Linked DNA regions of Homo sapiens: regions 2, 3, 4, 5, 6 and 7 are each linked to region 1. Evidence: promoter capture Hi-C in 16 types of primary human blood cells and fetal thymus (Javierre and others, 2016). All regions are on one chromosome and are shown on one strand. Each heading gives the region's core, a stretch centred on a gene start or on the middle of the fragment in contact. The rest is flanking DNA. Distances are from core to core; before and after follow the strand shown. Region 1 holds the start of CEP76 (centrosomal protein 76). Region 2 overlaps CEP192 (centrosomal protein 192). Region 3 overlaps AFG3L2 (AFG3 like matrix AAA peptidase subunit 2). Region 4 overlaps CEP192 (centrosomal protein 192). Region 5 has its middle 14 kb from the start of AFG3L2. Region 6 overlaps CEP192 (centrosomal protein 192). Region 7 holds the start of PRELID3A (PRELI domain containing 3A).

Region 1 (3,747 bases), core at 322-2,821:
AAGCAGTCAAATACTGCTTCTGAAGTTTTAAGGTTCTCCAGCTAACAGTAAATGCACAATTGTTACCACAATTGAATGGGAACAAAGGTAAGCTTTTAAAGAATGAATCTTTTGAGTACAAATTCTAGAAATAGTCTCCACTGGTTATCTGGCACCTTTGTTACCATTTCTCCACAAACAACACTCAACCAAAAGGAATCTTCTGAGAGGGAGTATAGTATAATCAGAAGAACACGGACTGGGAGTAGGCAGATCAAAGTATGATCTTATTACTTTCATACTTTGATCTGCCTAATGATAAGGGAATCTTACCAGCTTTCAACTTAGTAGATGTGTAACCTCAAGCCAACTTATTTACCCTTTATAAATCTGTTTCGTCACCGATAAGAATGGAAAAACCTAGTGTAGTGCCCTCTCACGATAGTGTTGTGAGGATTAAAGATACTAGACAGCACAAAGCCTGGCACACAAGGGCACCATAAATGGTCGCTTTTATCACTTCAGCATCTTGCACTCAGTCGAGCGAGCGCTGCAGAAACTGGAGGTTCTTCTGGAGCTCCGAAATATTAACAAATTCCGTCATTACAAACCCTTTAGTAACTTCTCTTCCATGACTTATTTGAGAATTGCTGATTGAAGCTCCTGGTTCAACTTCGCTGATACCCACATGTTTCAGCGGTAAAGAAACCCTGATATCTGCCGGGCGCGGAGGCTCACGCCTGTAATCCCAGCACTTTAGGAGGCCGAGGCGGCCGGATCACGAAGTCAGGAGTTCGGGACCAGCCACACCAACATGGTGAAACCGTCTCTACTAAAAATACAAAAATTAGCCGAGCGTGGTGGCGCGCGCCTGTAATCCCAGCTACTCGGGAGGCTGAGGCGGAGAATCGCTTAAACCTGGGAGGCGGAGGTTGCAGTGAGCCGAGATCGTGCCACTGCACTCCAGCCTGGGCAACAGAGAGACTCCGTCTCAAGAAAGAAAAAAAACCTGATATCTTACAGCAGAATATAAACCTCCAAATACAACTTACACTCGATCCGACTTCCAGAAGTCGCTCGCTAAGCGCTTCATTCTCACGGCCGTCCTAAAACGCCAAGACCGCTCGTTCTATCGCCCCAGACTCTTGCTAGCACCTGCTCGGCTCGTTTTCTTTCTCGGAGACGAGGACGCTCTCCTGCCTCAAACTCAAAGCTCTGCCTACTCTGCGTTGCGCACCCCACAATCCTCGCTACAGTCCCGGCAAGCAGATGCCGCTGTCGGCCCGGGGCCGCCGGGCAGGAGGGAAAGGTTATGGGTCGGCCCGGCGGTCTCTCCCAGCACCCGCGACTCTCACCTTGCTCAGCTGCTGGTGGATGAGCTGCTTCAGCTCGGAGGCTTTCTCCGGAGGCAGCGACATGCTGGCAGCCGGCGTCTCCCCGCCGCTTCTCCCCGCCTCAGATGCCCTAACTGCGCGGCCCCGGCCGGGCCAGGGAGCGTTAGGAGCGACTGGAGCACAAAGCGCCGCAGCCGTTCGCCTAGCGCAGCTCCCGGGGGACGCAACGCCGCGTCAGGCCGGGGGCTGACCTGGAAATGAGGCCCCGGCGGCGGCGGCGCCAACTGTTTTCAAACAGTGGCGGACAAACAGGGCTTGGGGCTGGCCCGCACGCTGCCTGATCGTTTCCGCCCGCCGCTCCACCTCCCCGCGGGCCCCGCACCCCGAGACCTCAGCGCACCCCATCGCCTTGCTTGCCAGGGTCTCCGAAAGCGCTGCTGGCCCCTCTTCGCGGCCACCCGGCGGCCTCTTTCCGCCCTCTGAACCGGCAGTTAGCTGGACGGGCCTCAAGGGCCCGGCGCCCAGGGACTCAAAGGACCCTCCCGCGCCCCGCGAGGCTCCGGGGTCTCGGGCTTCCGCCTTCTTGCTGCCCTCGTTCTTGCCAGGGCCGCGGTTAGTCCCTGCTGGCCACCCCACTGCGACCATGTTCGTTCCCTGCGGGGAGTCGGCCCCCGACCTTGCCGGCTTCACCCTCCTAATGGTGAGTCTCCATTTGCGCTCGGGGCTGCCGCCTCCCGAGGCCCCTGCGGTGTCGCCACCCCGACGCGGGGTGTTTGGCGGTGCCTTGGGAGAAATAGGGCACTAGTTTCTATTTCATGTTTTCGGCCGGAAAAAACAGGGAGGTTGTAGCCGGAGGCAGCCGTCCAAACAGAACCTTTGTCGGCTGTAAAACCAAACGTAGTCAAGTCTACAATTTGTAGTCTCTGTTTCCTGTAAAACGTGATGTGTTCGTACGTTCTAGATACACTGTACTTATGTTTTGCAGGGCATCCTTCAGTTTTATCCTAGAAAGTCTTTCTACGACTAGTTTTAGAATTAGTCTTAAGCTAGCATATTATCGTTGTTAACCGGAGAACTACTGATAGGGCAATAAACATTAACTCTTGCCGGTAGTTAGCGCAGTTTTATCGCTCTTTATATTCATTCATTGTTTTAATAAAGTCTGTTATGTGCGAGTATTAGAATAAGACTAGGTGCGTGCCCTCAAAGAATTTACACTGTAGTTGGAAACATGTAATCTAAGAGCAATAAATGCTAGGCTAGAAGCTTGAAAGGGTATAGAAAGGTCCTGAGATAATTGGGAGGGGAGGGACAGATGGCTTGTTAAGAAAGGCTTTATAGAGAAAGTAGTATGCAAAAGATGGAGGGCCCGTGGGCTGGGAGTAGGGGAAAGTAGGCGTTTCAGAAAGATGGATGTCTAAAACAGAGTCAGTAAGCAGGGGGACTTGAAGACTGCCAAGAATTTGGAATGACACATTGAGAGAGAATAGGCTGTAGGCCCTGTGAACCCAGAAGGCACCATTGGAAAATGCACTGTTTGGAGTGGTATAAGGCTGGAGAGAGCTGGAAGTGTCATCCTTATTCATTACATATAAAACACACAGCCCCAGAGAAGAGTGTTTCAAAAAGGAGGGAGTGGCCATGTCAAAAGTAGCCCAGAGATGTGTAAGGTGAAGAAAGTGTATGTTTGGATTTAGCGACATGTTAATGATGGTCACCTGGACAAACAGTTACCAGTGAAGTGGTGAAGAGGAAAGCCATATTGGAGTGGGTTGAATGAATGATAGAAAACAAGTTAAAGATTTGGGTTGTATAATATATATTCAGTCATTAATTCAGAGACAGGCATGATGGCTCATGCCTGTAATCCCAGCACTTTAGAAGGCCGAGTACAGGAGGATCGCTTGAGCTCAGGAGTTCAAGACCAGCCTGGGCGACATAGTGATACCTCATCTCTACAAAAAAATAAATAAAAATTAGCCAGGTGTGGTTTCCTGCACCTGTATCTCAGCTACTCGGGAAGCTGAGGTGGGAGGATCACTTGAGCCCAGGAAGCAGAGGCTGCAGTGAGCTGAAATCGTGCCACTGCACTCCAGCCTGGGCGACAGAGTGAGACCCTGTCTCAAAAAACTTTTTTTTAATAAGAGATAAAGTTTCTGCTTATGTTTTCGTGGACGACTTGGAGAATTTTTGCTACATAGAGAAACAAGAAATGAGGTTGCAGTTAGAGGGCTATGTGGGGTCAAGGGAGAGCCTTTTAGAATGAAAGATATTAGAGCATGTTTACGTGCTGATGGGAATAATACAATATTGTGAGGAAAAGAAGGATGGTACAGAAGAGTTTAACCCAAGTAGCAAAATCGTTGAGAAGGGAATTGCAGGAGGTAACTAGGCAATTGGTAGGTGACAACAGTGAAAAGTGGGAGAACATGCT
Region 2 (3,747 bases), core at 867-3,366, 350 kb after region 1:
GAGCTAAAGAAGGCCTGAAGCAATTTGGTTAGTAATACTTTGTTGCTGTTGGTTAGAAACTTACTAACTGGTATTTTGACAATACCGTCTTGATTTGGGACTTTTTATTTATTTTTTATTTTTTTTGAGACAGAGTCTCTCTCTCGCCCAGGCTGGAGTGCAGTGGTGCAATCTCGGCTCACTGCAAGCGCCGCCTCCCAGGTTCACGCCATTCTCCTGCCTCATCCTCCCGAGTAGCTGGGACTACAGGTGCCCGCCACCATGCCCAACTAATTTTTTGTATTTTTAGTAGAGACGGGATTTCACCGTGTTAAACGGGATGGTCTTGATCTCCTGACCTCTTGATCCACCCTCCTCGGCCTCCCAAAGTGCTGGGATTACAGGCGTGAGCCAACGCACCCAGCCAATTTGGGACTTTTTAAAAGTTCAGAATTCAAATTTGAATTTTCTGTGTACGTCCATTGCCTAGCTGAGTATTCTGAACTTTGTACAAAAAAGAAAGATGGTGGAATCCATCCAAGTGAAGGGCTGAATTCAAGCTAACTGGCAGAGCATAGGTGTGGAGACTGTTTCCAAATGTGGCTTGACACTTATTTCCTATCCCCTGTGCTCTTTTGCACTGTGACTTTGCCGCTTCCCCTCAAGAGGTGCAGTCCGTTTCCTGCTCCTTGCATCTCGGCTGGCAGCCCTGTGAAAGGTGCTTAATGAACAGAATAATGAGGAAGTAACCCTGGTGTTTGTGCAGATAGATGTGAGACTCACTATTTGTCACTTCCTGATCTTTTCATTTTACGTTGTGTAGCAGGGACATCTTTCTGAACCAAGGCTAGAACAGCATGCTTTTGAATGGCTGCATAGTGTTGTATTGCATGTTTGTGCTCTAATTTCTGTAGCTCAGTTCCTCCTGTCTGATTTAAGCTTTCCTACTTTTTGTCCACAGTGATGTGGACATGTCCTTTTTGTGAAGTCTTTATATTTATCATTAATTTTTTTTCTCAGGATAAATTCCTAAATGTAGAATATCTGAGTCAAGAGGCCTTTGATATGTACTGCTTAATTGCTCAACCAAAAGTTGTACCACTTGATAGTCCCACAGTGGTGTGTGACTGTTCCCATTTCTTTGCACTTATCTGCATGATTTTTTTTCCTCTTTGCTCGTTGAGGGTTGGAATCTTCTGTTCATTTCTCTATATCAGATACTTAGCAGATTTTTATAGCATGAATAGCTAATTGCTAATAATGAATTGCTGTGTGTCTTTATATGGTATTTATTAATGAAAATGCCACAATACATTTTACACTAGTTTAACAGATGCTTCATTCAATGGGAATATTCTTTACAATTTTAGATAATTAAGTGTAAACATTGAATTTGTGGTTGAGTCATTTGCAAGATTGTAGGCCCATAGGAATGGTTTTTTGCTAATGTAGATAGTTGAAGGACTGGAGAACTCCAGGTGTGAGCTACTCTTCTCTTTCAGGTGTGCGTTAGAGTCCTTTGGTTCAGCAGCTCAGCAGCAGCAGCCTCCCTGTGAGCAGGAGTTGTCTCCCTTGGTGTGCTCGCCTGCTGGGGTGAGCAGGCTGACGTATGTGTCTGAACCAGAGAGCTCCTATCCTACCACAGCCACAGATGATGCCCTGGAGGACCGCAAGGTGGGCAGCCACTTGGATTATTTATTACTAAGGCTTTCAACTCTTAAAAGTGTTAACAGATGTTTGATTCAGACTACAGTTCAAGCCTATATAACTTCAGTGTTGCTCTTTTATCTTTAAAATGATTTTTGTATTTGTGTGCACATATTAAATACCTACTCATGCTGGTAGACACAGAGGTACAAACATTTTAGGATCTGCCCTTGAAGAGCTCTGTCTGGTGAGGCACGCTGTGTAATGAAGTGCATCATGCTGCGCGCATACTATGGGGACTCAGAAGGTGGTGGTTGGAAGTCTGACTGCCTTTGCTTCAGCAAAGGTTTCTGCAGGGATAAATACACTGAAGCCACACCGTGCAGGACTGCTAGGAGTTAGGCAGCGGGGAAGCAGAGTTAACACATGGGGAGGTGGAGAGTTGTAAGATACAAACTGCATCTGGGCACTCCAGGAAGTTTAGAACGGCCACAGTGAATCATGTCAATAGGGAGAAGTGTATGAGGCTAGAAGAGGGGGGACCAAACCGGGAAGGGTGCTGGGTTTAAAATACGGGAGTTTGAAGGCTTTTTAGCAGGTCACTGTCATGATCTGTTTTGATTTTGTTTTGTTTTTGTATTTTTTAGAGACGATCTCGCTCTGTCACCCAGGCTGGAGTATGGTGGCACGATCACAGCTCACTACAGCCTGGGACCGCTGGTCTCAAGGGATCCTCCTGCCTCAGCCTCCCAAGTAGCTGGGACTACAGGTGTGCACTACCACACCTGGCTAATTTTTCATTTTTTTTTGTAGAAACAGCTTCTTGCCATGTTGCTCAGGCTGGTCTTGTACTCCTGGGCTCAGGTGTTCCTTCTGCCTCGGCCTCTCAAGTAGCTGGGACTACAGGTGCCTACCACCACATCTGGCTAATTAAAACAAATTTTTTTAGAGATGGGGTCTTGCTATGTTGCCAGAGCTGGTCTTGAACTCCTGGCCTCAAGCGATCTTCCTGCCTTGGCCTCCCAAAGTGGTGGGATTACAGGCATGAGCCACCAAGCCCAGGCTGGTTTGATGTTTTAAAAGCTCACTCCAACAGCAATGAGGAAGGAGGGAACAGTAGGAGCAAAATTAAAATAGGAGATTTGACATGAGGCCACTGTAGTGGTTCAGGCAAGAGACAGTGCACGCTTGGGCCAAGACAGTAGCAGTGGGAATAGAATAGAAGATCAGAGAGATTTATGTGGGAGAAGCTAGTATTAGCTATTTTCGTGTGTGGACGTTGTGGATGTGACAGTGTGCAGTTTTTTGATGAGCTAACTGTGACTGCTGTGGGGATGCTGCATAGTCTTCCTCCACCAAGCCACTGAAGAGTTACTGAATACACAGCGTAGTGTGAGAGCATTACACCCCTTTCTTTGAAAGCTGTCTTTTTCATGTTGTTGTTAGATACTGAGTCTGCATGTTCTTAGCATAGTGGTTGAGAGCTGGGTTATGGTGTCAGATAACTTATCTTCTGCTGCCTCCTCAGACAGATTACTAAACCTCCCTCAACCTGTTTCTTCATCTGTAAGGAGGAATAGTATGTGAGGGCAGTGCTTGTCACCTAGTAAGTCACCACTGGATACATATTATTTGTTATTATTAATTGGCAAATAATATAGTCTTTGTTTCTTAGTGTCTTTATTTCTGAAGCTTTGGCCAGGAGAAATTTATAAACCAAGTACCAAAGCAATCAGTGAAGGTTACGTCTATCTAGTCTGTAAATTTCAGCTGGTCCATCCTGCAGAGCTGCAGATGTCACTCCTCAGATTATGCATTATGTACAAACAAATGAGTGTGGACATTTACCAGGACTGTTAACTTCATGCTTCATAGAGCCACACAAGTTTAGAAATGGGAGAGGGCTTAGAACACATAAAAGTTAACATCTTTGGCCGGGTGTGGTGGCTCATACCTGTAATCCCAGCACTTTGGGAGGCTGAGGCAGGCGGATCACCTGAGGTCAGGAGTTTAAGACCAGCCTGGCCAACATGGTGAAACCCTGTCTCTACTAAAAATACAAAAAATTAGCTGGGCATGATAGCGGGTGCCTGTAATCCCAGCTACTTGGGAGGCTGAGGC
Region 3 (3,747 bases), core at 884-3,383, 360 kb before region 1:
ATGGACATAGGTTTTTATTTCTCTTGGGGAAATAAAAGTTGAATTGTTTGGTCACATGGAAGTGTTCGTCTACCTTAATAAGAAACTGCCAAACTGTTTTCCAAAACAATGGTACCATTTTACATTCCCTATTTTTGTTTTTGGCAGAGCTTCATTCTGTCCCCCAGGCTGGAGTGCAGTGGCACGACTGCTGCTTACTGTAGCCTCCGCCTCTTGGGTTCAAGTGATCCTCCCCATCTCCAGTGATTCTCCTGCCTCAGTCTCCTGAGTAGCTGGGATTATAGGCGTTCACCATCATGTCTGGCTAATTTTTCTATTTTTAGTAGAGACAGGTTTCGCCACGTTAGCCAGGCTGGTCTCAAACTCCTAACCTCAAGTGATCCGCCTGCCTCGGCGTCCCAAAGTGCTGGGATTACAGGCATGAGCCACTGTACCCGGCCCCATTTTACATTCCTATCAATAACGTGTGAGCGTTTCAACTGCTCCATATCCTTATCAACAATGAAGACTGTCTCTTCTTCATTTTAACCATTCTAGCAAGTATGTTCAGGTAGCTCATGGGTGAATTTGCATGTCCCTGATAAATAATGATACCCTGTGTGTGCTTAATGCCCACTCATATACCTTCTGGGAAATGCATGTTTAAATCTTTCGCCCATTGTTTTACTGGGTTGTTTTCTTATTATTGAGTTCTAAGAGTTCTTTACAGGTTCTAGAAATAAGTCCTTTGTCCTGTATATGTACTGCATGTATTTTTGGAGGGCGTGGCTTGCCTTTTTATTTTCTTAACTGTCTTTCAAAGAAAGAGAGTTTGAAATTTTGATGAGATCCCACCTATCAACGTTTTCTTTTGTGGCTCATGCTTTTTGTGTCCCAAGAAATTTTTGCATGGTCAAGGCCACAGAGATTTTTCCCTGTATTTTCTCCTAGAAGTTTGATGGTTTTAGTTCTTATGACCTGTTTCAAATAATTTTTTGCATATGATGCAAGGGTTAACGTTCACCATTTTTCCTGTGAATACTCTGTTGCCAGAACCACCTGTAGATAAGACAATTCCTCCCCCTTGAATTATCCTGGTACCTCTGTGAACCAAAAGTTTGTGGTTCACTTTCCGGGCTCCATTCCACCCCACTGGCCTGCGTGCCAGTCCTCTTACCAGCACTACACTCTCATCACTGTAGCTGCACAGTCTTAATACTGGGATGAGTAACTTACTGTTTTGGCTACTCTTACTCATTTGTATTTCCATATCGGTTTTAGATTCAGCTTCTCAATTTCCACAAAAAAAAAAAATCTGCTATAATTACCAGAGATTGCACTGAAATTATCAATTAGTTTTGGGAGAACTGATGTAACACTCCATGAGCAAAGTCCACCTCTATTTTTATTTAGGGCTTGTTATCAATGTGCATGTCCTACAAATATTTTCTTAAATTTATTCCTCCATATTTCGAGTTTTTAGATGCTACTGAAATTGCTAATGAAATTGAATTTTTAAAATTTCATTTTCCAATTGTTTATTGCTAATACACAGAAATACAATTGGTCTTTGTATACTGACCTTGAATTCTTCAACCTTGCTAACTTTACTTATTAGTTCTAGTGGGTTCTCTGTGGGTTCCTTAGGATGTTTTATGGACACTCTAATGTTGTCTTCTCTATGGTTCCCTTGCTTCAGGGGACCCCCACACCCCTGGCCCGCCTCAATTCCCAGCAGCCCTGATACCCATCGCAAGGCAGGGAGGCAGCTGCTTTCTGTCATCTGTGCTGCAGCAGTTCGGGAAATGCCTCAGTTGAAAAGCAAAAAACTTAAAAATCTCACATGGTTCCCCCGTCTTTCAGGGGTAGATTTCTCTTTGGTCTCTGCTTACCCTTTTGCCAGGTTCTCTGGGATTGCCACTGTGCATGTGTAGTTTAGTTGTCGGCCTGAGATTTGGGCAGTTCCTGCTCAGATTCGGGCCTCACCACTTGGTAGTTTTCTTGCTTCTGGGATTTTCCTGTTAAATTTCCAGTATTCTTTAAGTCCTGGACTATCTCCTCTACCACCTCAGGATAATAAAGACTATGTCTCATACCACTGTAGTGTGGAGATTATGAAAAACCCTTTGGCAAGAAAGCCACAGGCTCCCAGTTCAAACCCACTGCAACTGCTGCTTTATAGGAGCAAACTCTCCAGCTCTCGCCTGCTTTTGGACACTCTGTGGTCCCTTTAAATAATTTTCTGTCCAAATTTTATATTTATCTATGGGACGGTTTGTGCAACTATGGTTACCAGAAGTTACCAGAAGTTTTGGCTAAAGCCTTGTTTCTTTCTCCTTTGCAGGAGTGTAGCTTGCTTCTTGAGTGACTGCAGCGAGCATCTGCTCACCCATGCACTGGCTGCCTAGTGCAGCTACCCTGCTTCACCTTTAAAAGCGGGTCTGCGTGCTCCAGATACCAGCCGGCAACCGCATGGCCTGCTTCGTGGTATGCCACAGTCTTCTTCTCCTCAGGCTGCAGAACCTGCGTTTTCTTCTCTAAGCCTAACAAAATAACAACAAAAAAACCCAAGCCATTGTTACAGTGACACTGACATTAAAAGACAGTTATACAGTGCTATACATTGCCTTACCTAAAATGGGGTTTGGAGACTGAGCTGCCTATCACAATCCAAAAATTCCTAATCAAGGCCAGGCGCAGTGGCTCATGCCTGTAATCCCAGCACTTTGGGAGGCTGAGGTGGTCCAATCACTTGAGGTGAGGAGTTCGAGACCAGCCTGGCCAACATGGTGAAACCCCGTCTCTACTAAAAATACAAAATTAGCCAGGCGTCGTGGTGAGCGCCTGTACTCCCAGCTGCTAGGGAGGCTGGGGCAGGAGAATCACTTGAACCCAGGAGGCGGAGGTTGCAGTGAACTGAGATCATGCCGCTGCACTCCAGCCTGGGCTACAGAGTAAGAATCCGTCTCAAAAAAAAAAAAAATTAAATTAAGTTAAAAATTTTTTTAAAAAATTAAATAGAATTCCCAATCAAGGTCAGAATAAAAGCAAAAGGTCAGGTTCAAAATACAACTACAGCAAAAATGCACTCACTCCCCCATCCCCAGGCCTGCTTTCACCCTAACTCTCTCACTTTTAAGCCACACACCCTGTGTTTTGGGAAACAAATAGAAATGTAAAATAAAATTCAGCATTAAGGTCATTTTAAAACACGCAAAATTACAGAAACCAAAACTCTGGAAAGGTCCTCATTGCATAGTCTAGGTATTCAGAATTATCAAATACTGGGCACGCGAAGATGGCTGCCATAAGACACTACCTGCTGTCTGTTCTGCTGGAAGGCAGAAGAGAGTCTGAGAAAGCAGGCAGCCAGTTCAACACCCGGAGCTACCTAGGTGGAGCCAGCCAGGCTGATGCTGGCGCACCCTCACCTAACCAGCCGGCCCTATGGCTCAGAGCAAGCCACAGAAGTGGCAGAGCAGACCCAGAGGGCAAACCCCAGCGACACAGGGCCCACAAGACCCGTGCTGCAGCCTGCGTCCACCACAGTGCTGACCGGACTCTAGTCTGAGCGTGATTCTTCTCTGGCCTGGATCAACGTGGGCTCTGCCCCTCACTCCATACCTCTGTGCTGTAAAAACTAACTGCGCCATTTGTACTAAAACAAATCATCACACAGTGGCAAAAGTAGTTTTGCCATGTTCATGGTAATCCACCTGAGAATTTCTCAGCTGATGTTAAGGAGACTGGAAGACAAAAACAAAAGCT
Region 4 (3,747 bases), core at 829-3,328, 330 kb after region 1:
TAGGATGTTGTAGAAATCTAGATGTCCCAGTGAAAATGAAGAGAGTAGCTAGTGAAAGACGTAGAAGTAAAATGGTTAGGATTTGATGGCTGGATTTCAGGGGATAGTAGAGAGGCAGGAAGAGAGGAGGGTCTGTGGTCTGAGTTACTTGGGGCAATGGCGATACCATTACCTGAGGCGGGGAGTCAGAAGAAAGTGTAGATTTTGGGTGATTGTGGTTTGAGGCAGAAGTAGTCATTAGTGGAAATAGGGGTCAGAAGTGTGAAGCTGAGTTGCGGTTAGGACTTGCTCAATGATATCTTGATCTAAAAATGATGATGCAGACCGAATGGTGGATATTTATCACTTAAAAGATCATGGAATTCTCATGTGTTGCTGGTGGGAGTGTAAATTGGTACAGCCATTTTGGAAACCTGTTTGGCAGTGTCTTGTAAGGGTGAACTTTATGAACTTCATACTTAATGACCTAATAATTGTACACCTGAGTACATATGCAGCAGAATAGGGCGTATGTATTCACCAAAAGACATACTAAAATGTTTATAGCAGCACTAGTTGTATCAGCCCCAAATTCTCAAATTCCCATTAGCAGTGGAAGTTTCCAAGTCACTGCAGAATCACCCTCCCCTCCCTCAGCCATAGAATGGATTATGTTTATTCATACCCTGGAATATTAGGTTGCAATGAGAATGAGTGATGTGAAGTTACATGCAACAACATGGATGAATCTCAGGAACATGTGGAATGACGTAAAGCTGACTAAGAACACACACTCTATAGTTCTATTTGTATACAGCTGGGCAATGCACTCCTGCAGAGCCAGCCACAGGGCAGTGGCTACATGTGGATGGGCAGGTAGCATGGGAAGCAGGCTCGGGTGGTTTGGGTACTGGCAGTATTATGCTTCTTAATCTGTGCTGTTGGCTATGCAGATGTGTTCAGATTGTGAAAATTCCTTGAGCTGTACACTTCACCTCTCTATCGTAAAAAGTTTTTAAAAATTAGCAAACTGAGAATAAAAGATTTGCAATTCATATTACAGGTTTAAAGCCCATTCCCCTAATATATAAACAGTTCCAATAAACAATAAGAAAAAGACCAACTACCCCAAAATTGGAAACAATTTATAGAAAAAGAAATAAAAACGATCGTTAAATGTACAACAAAAAATGTTCATTTTTAATCATGGAAAGAAATGCAGTGTAAATCCACCCAGTCATAGTATTTTTCAGTTATTTCCTTGGTAGTGATCCAAAAGTTTGGTGATAAAACTGTCTTAGCAAAGATGTGAGGGACACAGGTATGCTAGTCCATTCTTGGCACCGCGTCTACCTATAATGACATTGCAGCATCTAGCAAAGTTACGCATGTACTATCCTGTAACCGAGCAGTTCTGCTTCTGGGAATTTATTCTTCAGATACACTTGCATAAATGATACATGGTGTATGTGCAGGCTCATTACTTGCAGCATTGTCTGTGATAACAACGTTAGAAGCAATGTAGATGGACAAAATAGGGTATAAATTAAGGTGCATCCATACAAGGAGGTACCCTGTGGCTATACAGAATGGTAAAGGAGCTCTTTAGTTACTCAAATGGAATGATCACTGGAATAAATTAAAGATAAAGTCCACCTCAAAGCACATAAAGTATTCTAACATTTGTGTAGAAAGGTAGGAGAGGGGAGGATGTACATACAGATATTTGTAAATACATACAATGGAAAGATAAAACAAGATACTGACTACAGGAATGTCTAGTTACTTGAACTCAGAAATCAAAAATTCAGATAGACATTTCAGAAATATTTTAGCTGTTGGTTGCTTCTGGGGGTGTGGGAAACTAGGGTCAGGGATGGGGAGATAGTTTTCAGTATATACCCTTGTAAGTCTTTGGTTAACTTTGAAAAGCTCTTTATTGTGGTGTCATAAATACACCTTTTAAATTTGAATTATTAGATGTATTACTATTAAAAAATAAAAAATGATAACGGAAAGATTGAATGAAACCATCCTTGTGCTTAGGGAATGAATACTAGTCTGGTTGGAAAGGATGACTAGCATGGGTGGGGAGGAAAGGGAAACGGGGAGATGGAAAGCTATTAAAAAGGTTGGTGGACAGAAAACCTGATGGGTGCTGGGAAGGATGGACTAGATCCAGGGAAATAGGGGTGGAGGTAGCATTAATGAAATGGGAGCCTTTTTACTGAAAAGGAGAAAGGAACTTTAAAAATGTAATAAAAGGAGATATTCAGAAAAGGAAGGTTGGAAAAAAGGGTGTAATCTTGTAACGTCCAAGTCATTTTAAATGAAAATTTGCCTACTTATAAACTTTATTCAGAACAGTTCCTTAAGAGAGCCTGCCTCGGCCGGGCGCAGTGGCTTACGCCTGTAATCCCAGCACTTTGGGAGGCCAAGGTGGGTGGATCACCAGGTCAGGAGATCGAGACCATCCTGGCTAACATGGTGAAACCCTGTCTCTACTAAAAAAAAAAAAAATACAAAAAATTAGCTGGGTGTGGTGGTGGGCACCTGTAGTCCCAGCTACTCAGGAGGGGGCTGAGGCAGGAGAATGGCGTGAACCCAGAAGGCAGAGCTTGCAGTGAGCCGAGATTGCACCACTGCCCTCCAGACTAGGCGACAGAGCAAAACTCTGTCTCATAAAAAAAAAAAAAAAAAAGCCTGCCTCCTCTTCTTCCCCATGCCTGCCTTCCTCCTTGCCGACAGCTCAGCTCCATCTATTCAAGGTGCTGCATTGCTGCCGCTTATGACCTGAGAGTTCGACAGTGGGGGAAACACAAATGGGCTGCTTCCACGTTTGGCCTCGGAAGCATTCAGTACAAGAGGATTGTTGTTTTAGGTATGCCAAAGAATTGGCATAGATTCTCATAAAAAGTGAAGTTCTGCTTTCTTATTGGCTGTGATTGATTTCTGATGAGTAGACAAGATAACAGTGTTAATATAGATGTTTCTTTGATGAATCCCTTATAGTTCAGAGAAAAAGCATTTAGGAATATAATAAATCCTATTTTGAGCTGTTCGGTCAATTATTTAAAAACCAGGTGATATTTAACTCCTCAAAGTAAATTAAGTTTCTTTTGGGTTACCTTCTGTATTAGTTTGTTTTTATGCTGCTGATAAAGACATACCCGAAACTGGGAACAAAAAGAGGTTTGCTTGGACTTACAGTTCCACGTGGCTAGGGAAGCCTCAGAATCATGGTGGGAGGCAAAAGGCACCTCTTACATGGCGGCAGCAAGAGAAAAAATGAGGAAGAAGCAAAAGTGGAAACCTCTGATAAACCCATCAGATCTCGTGAGACTTATTCACTATCATGAGAATAGCATGGGAAAGACCGGCCTCCATGTTTCAGTTATCTCCCCCTGGGTCCCTCCCACAACATTTGAGAATTCTGGGAGATAACAATTCAAGTTGAGATTTGGGTGGAGACACAGCCAAACCATATTACCCTCTTTTGGGCCGAGTTTCCTACTTCCCTTCTCTTGGCTGTCAGATTTGGTTGGTTGCTCCTTTCATCTTTTAGGGCAGTGGTTTTTAACTTAGCTTGAGTCATAGATTCCACAATGAATCTTCATAGAAATATATGGAATGTATGATTTTGCATGTAATTTTGAGGGCTTCATGGTTCTCCTGATGCTCATTCCTAGGTTCTGTGCTGTAGGTTAAGAATGTGTTTTTTCTTAGGCTGGGCATTTTGGCTTATGCCTGTAATCCTAGCCGTTTGGG
Region 5 (3,747 bases), core at 787-3,286, 310 kb before region 1:
GAAAAAATAATTTTATGACTATGTATATTTTCCAAATATCTTATAATAAATGTATAATAGTTTTACGAGCAAGAAAATGTAAAATGTTGAAATATAAAAGGTTCAGTATAAGGATGGGGCCAGGTGCAGTGGATTATAGAATCCCAGCACTTTGAGAAGCCAAGTGGGGAGGATGGCCTGAGGCCAGGAGTTTGAGACCAGCCTGGGCAACACAGTGAGATCCCCGTCTGTACAAAAAAATTTAAAAATTAGGCCAGGTGCAGTGGCTCATGCCTGTAATCCCAGCACTTTGGGAAGCTGAGGTGGGCGGATCATTTGAGGTCAGGAGTTCAAGACCAGCCTGGCCAACATGAGGAAACCCCATCCCTACTAAAAATACAAAAATTAGCCAGGCATGGTGGCACGCACCTGTAATCCCAACTACTCTGGAGGCTGAGGCAGGAGAATCACTTGAACCCGGGAGGGGGTGGTTTGCAGTAAGCCAAGATCAAGCTACTGCACTCCAGCCTGGGAGACACAGTGAGATTCTGTCTAAAAAAAAGAAAAAAAAAAAAAACCGCCAGGCACGGTGGCCCATGCCTGTAATCCCAACACTTTGGGAGGCTGAGGCCGGGTGGATCACAAGGTCAGGAGTTCAAGACCAGCCTGGCCAAGATGATGAAATCCGGCCTCTACTAAAAATACAAAAATTAGCCACGCATGGCCAGGCGCGGTGGCTCACGCCTGTAATCCCAGCACTTTGAGAGGCCAAGGCGGGTGGATCACGAGGTCAGGAGATTGAGACCATCCTGGCTGACACAGTGAAACCCTGTCTCTACTAAAAATACAAAAAATTAGCCGGGCGTGGTGGCGGGTGCCTGTAGTCCCAGCCACTCTGGAGGCTGAGGCAGGAGAATGGCATGAACTCGGGAGGCGGAGCTTGCAGTGAGCCGAGATCGCACCACTGCACTCCAGCCTGGGTGACAGAGCGAGACTCCATCTCAAAAAAAAAAATTAAAAATTAAAAATTAGCTCAGTGTGCTGGTACAGGCCTGTAGTTCAAGCTACTCAGGAGGCTGAGGCAGGAGGATTGCCTGAGCCCAGAATTCAAGGCTGCAGTGACCTATGATCACACCATTGCACTCCAGCCTAGGTGACAGAACAAGACTCTGTCTTTCAAAATAAAAAAAAAGTTCAGTATAAATTTTTTTTTCATCAGTGTGGACAGAAACAAAGTTACAAAATGAAAAGTAAAAGTATCTTCATTTCTCATGTTCACATCTTAAAGGTAACTTTCTTTCTTTCTTTCTTTCTTTTTTTTTTTTTTTTTGAGACGGAGTCTCACTGTGTTGCCCAGGCTGGAGTGCAGTGGCCTGATCTCAGCTTACTGCAAGCTTTGCCTCGCAGATTTCAAGCTATTCTCCTGCCTCGGCCTCCCAAGTAGCTGGAATTACAGGTGCTCACCACCATGCCTGGCTAATTTTTTTGTATTTTTAGTAGAGACGGGGTTTCACTGTGTTAGCCAGGATGGTTTCGATCTCCTGACCTCGTGATCCACGCACCTCAGCCTCCCAAAGTGCTGGGATTACAGGCGTGAGCCACCGCGCCCGGACTTTTTTTTTTTTTTTTGACACAGTCTCACTCTGTCGCCCAGGCTGGAGTGCAGTGGCTGATCTCGGCTTACTGCAAGCTTTGCCTCCCAGATTTCAAGCTATTCTCCTGCCTTGGCCTCCCGAGTAGCTGGGATTACAGGCACCTGCCACCATGCCCGGCTAATTTTTGTATTTTTAGTGTTTCACTATGTTGACCAGGCTGGTCTCTAACTCCTGACCTCAGGTGATCCACCTGCCTTGGCCTCCCAAAGTGCTGTGATTATAGGCATGAGCCATGGTGCCTGGCCTTTAAAGGTAAATTTCTAGGTAGTTTTTTCTGTGTGTGTGTGTCCATACATTTTATATGTATTTGCAAGCATATAGAACTAATTTTTAGGCCAGGTGTGGTGGCTGATGCCTGTAATCCCAGCACTTTGGAAATCCAAGGCTGGTGAATTGCTTGAGGCCAGGAGTTTGAGACCAGCCTGGCCAACATGGTAAAACCCAGCCTCTACTGAAAATATAGAAAATTAGCCGGGTGTGGTAGCATGCGCTTGTAGTCCCAGCTACAAGGGAAGCTGAGGCCTGAGAACCACTTCAACCCGGGAAGCAGAGGTTGCAGTTAGCCGAGATGGTGCCACTGCACTCCAGCCTAGGTGACAGAGTAAGACTCTGTCTCAAAACAAACAAACAAAAAAAAAAAAACTTATTTTTACATGAACGAACGTGTACTTTATGCATCTTGATTTTTTCTTTTGTTTAACATATATTTTTGTATGTTAATAACATATAGTTCCCCCAAGGCATTAATAAACTCTATTGTATTCTCTTGTAAAGCTTTAATAGTTTTCTCACCAAGCGTCATTTAGACTAATTCTCATTTCTTTTTATTTCAGAAGCCACCGTGAGCTTTTTTTTTTGAGACAGGGTCTTGCTCTGTCACCCAGACTGGAGTGCAGTGGCACGATCATAGCTCACTGTAGCCTTGAATGCCCAGGCTCAAGCCTCAACTTTCCAAATAGCTGTGACTACAGGCCTGCGCCACCACAGCTGGCTAATTTTTAAATTTTTTGTAACGTTGGAGTTTCACTATACTGCTGAGGCTGGTCTTGAACTCCTGGCTTCAAGTGATCCTCCCATCTTGGCCTCCTAAAGTGCTGGGATTACAGGCATGAGCCCACGCACCCAGCCAATTATTCTTATTGGTACATGCATATATACACATGTGCCAGCTTCCATTCAGAGGATGGTTTCCTAGTAGAGAGATTGCCTGGTAAACATTAGTTTTTAGAAAATAATTTGTGTTTTGTGGCTAGGGCTTGGGCTCGCTACCCAGAGTTGTGCTGCATACGGTTCCCCACTAGGCGTCAGGAGAGCCCTATACATCTCTAGACAACGCCGTGCATTTCCAGAAAACCTTCAGATGTGTTCACAAGGCTGGTCTGGATTTTTCAAAAAATAATTTTTCTATTGTTCATAGTTCATCTCCACGAACAACCTAATGCTGTGTTTTCTATAAAGTGAAGCTGACATAATCTTTTCCAGTGGTGGTCTTGGTTTGTGCTACTGTTCCTGGCAATGGGCCTCAGGTAAAGGAATAGAAAAGACACAATGCCCAGTTGCTATTTTCCAGATGATAATGAGTAAAACCATGAATGATGTCACTGATGCCAGGGTGCTACCAATGCACGTTTCATGAATGACAACTGCAGAACATTTAGAAGATTCTTTATCACCCTTTTACTAGGTAGTGATCAAATATTTTTCTAAAAGAGTTGACCACAATGGTATACTCAAATCATAAAGTTTCTAGATTTTTCCCAATTGTGTCTTCTTGTAAAAAAATGTGATGATTGCTTTGGTACACCAAACTCCTTGTCATAAGCCATCTTTTGAGTACAGTACCGCAATCCCAGAAGGCATTATGTGAGAAGGCATTTGAAAGCTGAGAAGGAAATGGTTTGTTAGGAACCTAGTGAGAAGCTCTGTAAGCTAGATTGGATAGAATTAAAGTACCCAGAAATAGAAGTAAGGAGGAGAACATAAGATGTGTATTGAAAAGACTTACTTCAGCAATTTTTTTTTTTTTTTTTGAGACGGAGTTTTTTGAGACAGAGTTTCGGTCTCAGCTCACTGCAACCTCCGCCTCCTGGGTTCAAATGATTCTCCTGCCTCA
Region 6 (3,747 bases), core at 513-3,012, 300 kb after region 1:
CTGGGCAGGTTGTTAATGTATAACTCTAGAGATTTGCATAGGGATTGCACGTGATGGGGTGTGAGAGGGATCTCAGAGATGACTACGGTTTTTGGCCTAAGCAGCTAGGTGTTGGAGTTGTCATTTTCGCTGGTGGGGAAGGCTGAAGGGCAGGCATTTCTTGAGGGGATGGGAATTAATTGGAATCAAGATTCAAATGTAGGTGCTTGTTAGACATCTAAGTGGAAGTGTTGTGGAGGCGGTTGAATACCTGAGGTTCGGGGAAAGGCCCAAGATGGAGGTGTACATTTTACGTGATATTTTAAGCTTTGAAATTGAAGGCAATCACCCAGAGAGGGTGAGTTGATGGAAGAAGTTGAAGATCAAGCCCTGGAGGCTTCCACTCTGTGGAGGTCTAGGAGATAAGGAGGAACTGGCCAAGGAGAAGGGAAAGCAGCAGCTTGGTGGAGTTGGAGGAGAACCAGACAGCTGTGTCTGAGAAATGAAGCCAAGAAAGTATTTCCCCAAGGAAGGAGTAATCACCTGAATGTTAGGCTACAGAAGAAGGACCGGAGGTAGATTATAGTATGCTACGGCTTGGCAACAGGGAGATCAGGGCTGATGCTGACAAGCATTTTTTTGGTGGTGTGGTGGGATGAAGGCCAGAGTGGGGTGCGTTCAGGAGAGGATGGGAGTGGAACTGGATGCCAGTCATGATTCCTCTGGAAGCCTGTGATAAAGGGAGCATGGATAGGTGTGGTGGCAGTTCAGGGGGATAATGGGGGTGTGAGGTAGAGGAAGGCTTTTTTTAAAAGGTGGGAGAAATAACAGCATGCCCAGCGTGGGAGGGCTTGCACAGACAGAAGACTCGATCATGTTATGGAAGGGGGCCGATTGGTAGAGTGGTTGTCAGTGCAGTGAGGGGTTGGGATCGAGTGCAAAGTGAAGAGGTGGGCTTCAGACAGGGGCATGGACACTTCATAAACTGTTGTGGGATAATTTAGGAATCAGACCGAGGGGTTGAGGAGGATATATTATTTAGGTGCACCGGCCCAGTCGGATTAACATCCAAAAAGTCTGAGCCCTGAACAAGTCTGAGCCCTGAACAAAGAGTTAAGTTACCTTTTAAGGATTTCGTGGGGCGGCAGGGGGGAATCTGTGCAGGAGGAAGCATATTACAGAAGCAAGAAACAAAGACAATTATTCAATTAATTGAGACATGCATTATATCATTTCTTACTTTCCAAGGAAAAAATGTGTTTTATGGCTTGAGTTTATCTGTCTAGTGACCTTGCAGCTGCACAGCTAGAGAAACAGGGTCTTCACAATGCCTGGGAAAGGAGGAGAGATAAGGCTTACTAGCCACAGAAAAACAGGCAGATAATTTTTAAAGGGCTCCAGCTCTTTCTCTTTCTCAGGGGGAATTGGGTTTTCTTACATAGAACTGAGTTTCTGCTTACACATTCTTTAATTTCTTTTAACTCCTATTCCAAAACAAGTAAGTTCTTCTTATTTTTGGGGGGGATAGAGTCTCGCTCCATCACCCAGGCTGAAGTACAGGGGCGCAATCTCGGCTCACTGCAACCTCCACCTCGCAGATTTAGGTGATTCTCCTGCCTTAGCCTCCCAAATAGCTGGGATTACAGGTGCCCGCCATGACGCCCAGCTAGTTTTTGTATTTTTAGTAGAGACGAGGTTTTACCACGTTGGCCAGGCTGGTCTTGAACTCCTGAACTCAAGTGATTCGCCTGCCTCAGCCTCCCAAAATGCTGGGATTACAGACATGAGCCATCGCACCTGGCCTCATAATCTCTTTAGTGGTCATAAAACTTCTTCTTTTTCTTTTTATATTTTATAATTAGTCCATACTGTCTAAAATCTATGCTTTAATCCAATTTGTCATTGATCCTAGTATACTCCTTTATTACTGAAGTAGCTCTTTGAATAGTCTTCCAGGTTTTTAAGTCCTCTCCCTTCCTGTATAATAGGTTGATTGTGTCAGTTCTTTGTTGGTTGCAGAGTACAGTTCAAACTTTCCAACACACCGTTTCAGACTTTTAGAATCTGGCTCCATTCTGTTATTCTAGCTTCGTTTACTGTGTTATTTTGTTCACCTGCTGCCAAAATGCATTGGAGTATTTGCTACTGCCAGCATAGACCTAGCACTTAGAGTGGATTTTCGAGTCAGACCTGGGTTTGAATCTTACTAATTGCAACCTTGGGAAAATTGAGCTAATTTAGTCTCTCAGTTTGTTTCTTCACCTGTAAAATGGGATAATACCTACATTGTAAGATTTTCTGTGGATTCAGTGAGCTAAGTTAGTAGATATGCAATAAAATTTAATTCTTTTCCTTCTTGGCTCATGTTTATCATCCTAAATAAACTCTCTCATCCCATACTCTGCCTATAAAAGTTCTTCTCAGTCTTCAAGGCGCATTGCCAATATCCTCTCATTTTTTTTAGCTTTTCCTGATTATTTATCTTTTTATCCTTCTGCCATTATTTCCTTTACTGATTTCCATGCAGTGTGTATATGATACGTACTCTGAAAAATTGTTGAGACTAGCTAACATCTTCAGAGCACCGTGGTCAGGTTCTCTAGTAATAGCATAGGTTTTGTGCTGGTGTTTTCCAGATTTAGTCATTTGGGTACCCCTTTTACCACTTTTACCTTGTCCATGTGCCAACTATACTTTAACTGAAAATTGTTCTTTGAATGGGTTCACTTTTTAATTCAGTCTTAACAACACTGAGATCCGGGCTAGATTTTTGCTGGTTGTACTTTTTCTGTTCCGTATTAGAATGAGTATGTAACTACCAAACTTTTAAATATGTCCTAAAATCATTTGTATATACCATCAGTGTTATGCCATCTTTGCTTTCTTTACTAGATAAGTTTGTAGTAATTCATTTTCCTAGCTACACCAAGCAAAGGGCAAATTAAAATGTGTTGTATTGCATTATTATGTTAATTATAAGAAGGTAAGTTTAATGTTTAAGGTTTCTATTCTCATCTATAAAGTAGCAAAGTATTCTGAGATTTATTTTACCTCAGACTATTTGCCTATTTCCCCCTTACTAATGCTAAAAAAAGGATTTTTTTCCTAAGATTTATTAGTTTTCTAAGACAATGCTTTTAATCATTTAAAAACATTTTATAGTAATATGTGACCTATAGAAATACTTTTGTTATTGCAGTGAGATGGAAGATTTTCGAGGTATAGCAGAAGAATCATTTCCAAGCTTTCTCACCAATTCATTATTTGGTAACAGTGGGATTTTGGAAAATGTCACTCTTTCTTCAAATCTTGGCTTGCCTGTTGCTGTTTCTACACTTGCTAGGGATAGATCCAGCACTGATAACAGGTAAGATTTGTTTGAGCAGATTTTTTTCCAGGTCCATAAAGCCTATAGCATGCTGATATTTATGTTCTGTTTCTCAGTCAAGCTTGAGCTTTTTGTTTTATCTATGAGGGGGATGGCCAAATATGTGAAATGAATATAGAAAAGACAGAATTTACTGTCTTTTTCCCCATTGCTTTGCCTTTTCAGTGGGTAGGTTTGGGTGGGTTTGGGATTTGAGCACCAGTTACCTATTTCGGTCTATTTTTTTTTTTTTTTTTTGTCTATAGTGTTTTGGATTTGTATTAGTTCAGTCACACTAATGGCTAGTAATGTAAAACAAGTTGTGTTAGCGAAGTTCAAAGGCAAATTAATCATAAGGTTATAGGAGTACCTCTTGACATCAAGGGGAGGAGTGCAGAGCT
Region 7 (3,747 bases), core at 338-2,837, 290 kb before region 1:
TGAACTTCAGTTAACTCATTTGTAAAACGGGAAGAATAGCACCAACTTTGGAAGATCATCCTGAGCTTAACGCTGTAGGAGGTAGAGGTCAATGTGAGTGGACGGTGGAGCCAGGACTGTAGCCCAGGTCTTTCGGGTCATGCTGTGTGCTCTTCCACTTCCCTGCCTCACTGCACAAATGCGCTCCCCACGCCCACGGACGCCCCAGGGGCGCCAGGCGCTGCTCTAGGCTGAGACTCAGCCGACTCAGACAAGGGCCCTGCCCTCTCGCCCTATCTCATCCTGGAGAAGAGTACCCTCTTCTTAGAACAAGCATCTCACTTCCGTGCACTTCAACTTCGTTTGTGGCAGTGCAGGGTACTTTGCAAAGCTAAAAAGTAGTTTATGCGAAAGGGAGACTCTTTTTCCTTAGAGGATTTGCCAAGTTGTAATCACAAATTCTTTTTGAGATACACGTACATTTTTTTAAAGCTAAATAAGATTTCCCCCCAGTTTTATAACTCAAGAATGTATTTTCTCAAGGACTTGGGAGTCATCTCTTTGAAATGTCATCCCCGTCTCCCAGTTTTGTGGGAGGGTAGGAGCCCAGCTACCAGAGAGCACCTGGCTTCAAATTGTAAACCTACCTCCTGTCATAAAGGTATGAAAATTCATTTTTCCTTTGGATAAAGGCAATTAGCAAACGCAAATGGCCACTGCATTTACCAATGGCCACTCCATCATCAGGCGAATTTAGGATGAACTCTGCGACAAATGGTGTAGTGGAGTCCCCTCCCCGGAGGGCTGTCTCGTTTACCTCGGGAGCATGCGTGGGGTAGGTTGCATCCTCCCGGCTGTTTGATACAGGCTGAGATTTCTGTCTTTGCAGCCTATTTGGCGGATTGCTTGTGATGCACATCACATGCTGGTTTTGTTTTGTTTTGTTTTGTTTTGTTTTGTTTTGTTTGAGACGGAGTCTCGCTCTGTTGCCCAGGCTGGAGTGCAGTGGCGGGATCTCGGCTCACTGCAAGCTCCGCCTCCCGGGTTCACGCCATTCTCCTGCCTCAGCCTCCCGAGCAGCTGGTACTACAGGCGCCCGCCACCACGCCCGGCTAATTTTTTGTATTTTTAGTAGAGACGGGGTTTCACCGTGTTAGCCAGGATGGTCTTGATCTCCTGACCTCGTGATCCGCCCGCCTCGGCCTCCCAAAGTGCTGGGATTACAGGCGTGAGCCACCGCGCCCGGCCTCACATGCTGGTTTAATGTTTGTTCAAGACCCAAACTGCAGTGGAGTTTTGAGGGTTGGCAGGTTTGTTTTTCATCACACGTCCCCGACAGTACAAACCGGCGTAGCTGGACAGGGCCTTGGGAGAATTTGGACAGTGGGAGTAAGGACGAGCGTCGCCTCCTACGCCCGCGGCATCTGCAGCAAGCGCGCATCGCGCACCCCAGGGTAGCAGCGCAGGTCTGGGGCTGCGCCACAGCCGCGCCCGCAGAGCTATTTTTAGCCGCTGCAGCCAGCCTAGCCACCAGACGGGGTGGGCGGCATCCAAGGGCGCCCCGCCCATCGAGGCCCCGCCCACGCCGCGCCCGGAGCCGCGCGGCCCGAAGCACCCGGCCCGGATCGCAGAGCCCGCGCCCTGCGCCGGCGGCAATGAAGATCTGGAGCTCGGAGCACGTGTTTGGGTGAGGCCGGGCTGAGGGCCGCGGTGGGGCCGTCCAGACGCCGGCTCCTGCTCCCGAGCCCGGCTGGAGCGGTCCAGGAAAGGCCGGACCTCACAGCGGGCCTCGCGGAGATCCCCGCCCCGCGCCGGCCGTTCCCAGACCGCAACTTCGGCGTCCCGGAGAGGGCACGCGCGCTTCCCCGGGACCGCGGTCTGGGCGAGGCTCTGCGCCGGGTACGGCCTCTCCCCCGGCGTGCGCAGGGGCCTGGCTGCAGGCACAGAGGCCCCGCTGGTGGTCGACAGCCAGGGCGGGGGCAGCCGGAGCGGGGGCGGCCGGGGCGGGGGCGGCCGGAGCCGGGGGGGCGGCCGGGGGCCTGGCGCTCGCTGCTCTCCTTGGGGTCGGGAGCAGGGCAGGGGAGAGGCCTGCAAGCTGGCGCCTTTGCTGAGATTGTCATAAACCTTCCGCGCGTTTCACGGAGGGCCCACGGCGGGCTGTGAGCTCTGGAGGAAGCTAAAGGGGCAGAAGGCATTTCGGGGGCCCTGGCTCTGAACTCACTTGTAGGCATGGAAGGCCTCCAAGCTAGCGTGGAAAACCTCGAACTGTTTAAAAATGCTCCCCCGGCACACGGATGGAAGTGGAGGTCATTATCTTAAGTGAAGCCAGGCCCAGAAAGACAAGTATCGCATGTTCCCACTCCTAAGTGGGTGCTTAAGAATGTGTTCACATGGATGTGGAGAGTGGAACGTCAGATGATGGAGACTCTGAAGGGTGAGGGGGTGGGTGCAGGGAGGATAATGAGAATTGCTTAATGGGTGCAAGACACCTTCCCGGGTAATGCATACCCTAGAAGTCCTGACTTGACCACTACGAAATTTATGCATGTAACGAAATTGCACATATACTCCATAGAATTGTGCAAATAAAAAGAAGAAAAAAGTGCCCTCCTAACCTAAGTGGTATCTTTTCCTTAAGTCAGTGATCTGTGACACACTGAAATTATTCTTTAATGTTTATTTACAGCAACAAAGATTTTTTAATTATCTGACCTCACTTAAGCATTAAATATTTTATTTTGGGGGGAAAAAAAGTACTGCGTGGAAGGAAATTGTCATCCTTTGACTCTTTTTATTTATTTTTTTCGAGACAGAGTCTCATTCTGTCACCCAGGCTGGGTTTTTTTTTTTTTTTTTTTTTTTTTGAGACATAGGCTCGCTGGGTCACCCAGGTTGGAGTGCAATGGCGCGATCTTGGCTCACTGTAACCTCCCCCTCCTGGGTTCAAGTGATTCTCGTGCCTCAGCCTCCTGAGTAGCTGGGACTACAGGTGTGGGCCATCACGCCCGGCTAATTTTTGTATTTTTAGTAGAAACAGGGTTTCGCCATGTTGGCCAGGCTGGTCTCGAGCTCCTGACCTCAGGTGATCCACCCGCCTCGGCCTCCCAAAGTGCTGGGATTATAGGTGTGAGCCACCGTGACTGGCCTGACTTTAAACATGTAAAATTATAATAAAAATATATCAAGTGGTTTCAAAACCTCTGAAATTATTTTTCATGAAGTCTTTAGACTTGATGGGATCTAATTTTTTGTATGGCTTGCAGTGTTTCTCAAGTGGGTTTCCATCAGCAACAAGGATGGGGGCATCACTGAGCCGTCTGGATGCTGTGGACAGTTAAGTCATTGCATACCAGGAGTGCCAGGTGGTTGGGGCTCAGTTTTCTCATGGAATGGCCGAGGTCTGCCCTAGAGGTTTGTGAAATGTCTGTGGACAAGCACAAATGAATAGCTAGCTGTGAAAAATCACAGTTGATGCTTTTGAAAATTGTTGCAGCTGCTAACTCCCATTTATTTTTTTTAAGCTTTACCGAAGGATACTTTACATACCATAAAATTATACACATTTTAAGTGTATAATTCATTAAGTTTTGCTAAGTATGACCATCACACACACAGTCCAGTCTTAGAACACTTCTGTCCTCCTGCAGAGGTGCCCCATGCTCATTAGCTTCACATTTTACCCCATTTTCACCCCTGCCCCAGGCAACCAGGAATCTTTTCTGTTTCTATGAATTTGCCTTGTTGGGACATTGCATGTAAATGTCATCC

Evidence for each region. Contacts are between HindIII fragments. The CHiCAGO score rates a contact against its expected background, and 5 or more counts as called.
Region 2: a contact is called between a fragment that was not itself captured here and the fragment with the promoter of CEP76 in region 1, in 2 of 17 cell types (erythroblasts and M1 macrophages). The highest score is 5.7, in erythroblasts.
Region 3: a contact is called between a fragment that was not itself captured here and the fragment with the promoter of CEP76 in region 1, in 1 of 17 cell types (M1 macrophages). The highest score is 5.1, in M1 macrophages.
Region 4: a fragment that was not itself captured here is called in contact with the fragment with the promoter of CEP76 in region 1 in 2 of 17 cell types (total CD8 T cells and M1 macrophages); the score reaches 5.4 in total CD8 T cells.
Region 5: a fragment that was not itself captured here is called in contact with the fragment with the promoter of CEP76 in region 1 in 16 of 17 cell types (endothelial precursors, M1 macrophages, M0 macrophages and 13 more); the score reaches 18.4 in endothelial precursors.
Region 6: a contact is called between a fragment that was not itself captured here and the fragment with the promoter of CEP76 in region 1, in 3 of 17 cell types (non-activated CD4 T cells, total CD8 T cells and monocytes). The highest score is 6.2, in non-activated CD4 T cells.
Region 7: the fragment with the promoter of PRELID3A here is called in contact with the fragment with the promoter of CEP76 in region 1 in 4 of 17 cell types (endothelial precursors, M0 macrophages, M1 macrophages and 1 more); the score reaches 7.5 in endothelial precursors.

Annotation. Positions count from the first base shown.
Region 1 is chr18:12,701,152-12,704,898 of GRCh38, forward strand. It overlaps CEP76 (centrosomal protein 76), which reads right to left and starts at 1,572. Exons shown (of 12, transcript NM_024899.4): 1 at 1,335-1,572. The coding sequence starts at 1,397. It overlaps PSMG2 (proteasome assembly chaperone 2), which reads left to right and starts at 1,891. Exons shown (of 7, transcript NM_020232.5): 1 at 1,891-2,013. The coding sequence starts at 1,957. RefSeq lists enhancers at 717-1,614, 900-1,199, 1,210-1,259. The HindIII fragment of the contact is 2,487 bases long and covers 91-2,577 here.
Region 2 is chr18:13,051,438-13,055,184 of GRCh38, forward strand. CEP192 (centrosomal protein 192) reads left to right here. Exons shown (of 45, transcript NM_032142.4): 18 at 1,482-1,653. Among named protein-coding and RNA genes, the nearest start is that of CEP192, 62 kb to the left of the region's middle. RefSeq lists a silencer at 570-639. The HindIII fragment of the contact is 2,400 bases long and covers 917-3,316 here.
Region 3 is chr18:12,341,726-12,345,472 of GRCh38, forward strand. AFG3L2 (AFG3 like matrix AAA peptidase subunit 2) reads right to left here. Exons shown (of 17, transcript NM_006796.3): 14 at 2,407-2,522. It overlaps LOC107985154 (a long non-coding RNA gene), which reads left to right. Exons shown (of 2, transcript XR_002958227.2): 2 at 2,324-2,598. Among named protein-coding and RNA genes, the nearest start is that of AFG3L2, 34 kb to the right of the region's middle. The HindIII fragment of the contact is 9,965 bases long and covers 1-3,747 here.
Region 4 is chr18:13,032,159-13,035,905 of GRCh38, forward strand. The region is part of intron 11 of CEP192 (centrosomal protein 192); the gene reads left to right. Among named protein-coding and RNA genes, the nearest start is that of CEP192, 43 kb to the left of the region's middle. The HindIII fragment of the contact is 5,250 bases long and covers 1-3,747 here.
Region 5 is chr18:12,388,910-12,392,656 of GRCh38, forward strand. No RefSeq gene overlaps it. Among named protein-coding and RNA genes, the nearest start is that of AFG3L2, 14 kb to the left of the region's middle. The HindIII fragment of the contact is 739 bases long and covers 1,668-2,406 here.
Region 6 is chr18:12,996,243-12,999,989 of GRCh38, forward strand. It overlaps CEP192 (centrosomal protein 192), which reads left to right. Exons shown (of 45, transcript NM_032142.4): 2 at 3,179-3,346. The coding sequence starts at 3,183. Among named protein-coding and RNA genes, the nearest start is that of CEP192, 6.8 kb to the left of the region's middle. The HindIII fragment of the contact is 2,917 bases long and covers 305-3,221 here.
Region 7 is chr18:12,406,342-12,410,088 of GRCh38, forward strand. PRELID3A (PRELI domain containing 3A) reads left to right here and starts at 1,588. Exons shown (of 7, transcript NM_001142405.2): 1 at 1,588-1,666. The coding sequence starts at 1,635. RefSeq lists enhancers at 987-1,648, 1,649-2,308, 2,166-2,415 and a silencer at 1,386-1,965. The HindIII fragment of the contact is 9,540 bases long and covers 1-3,498 here.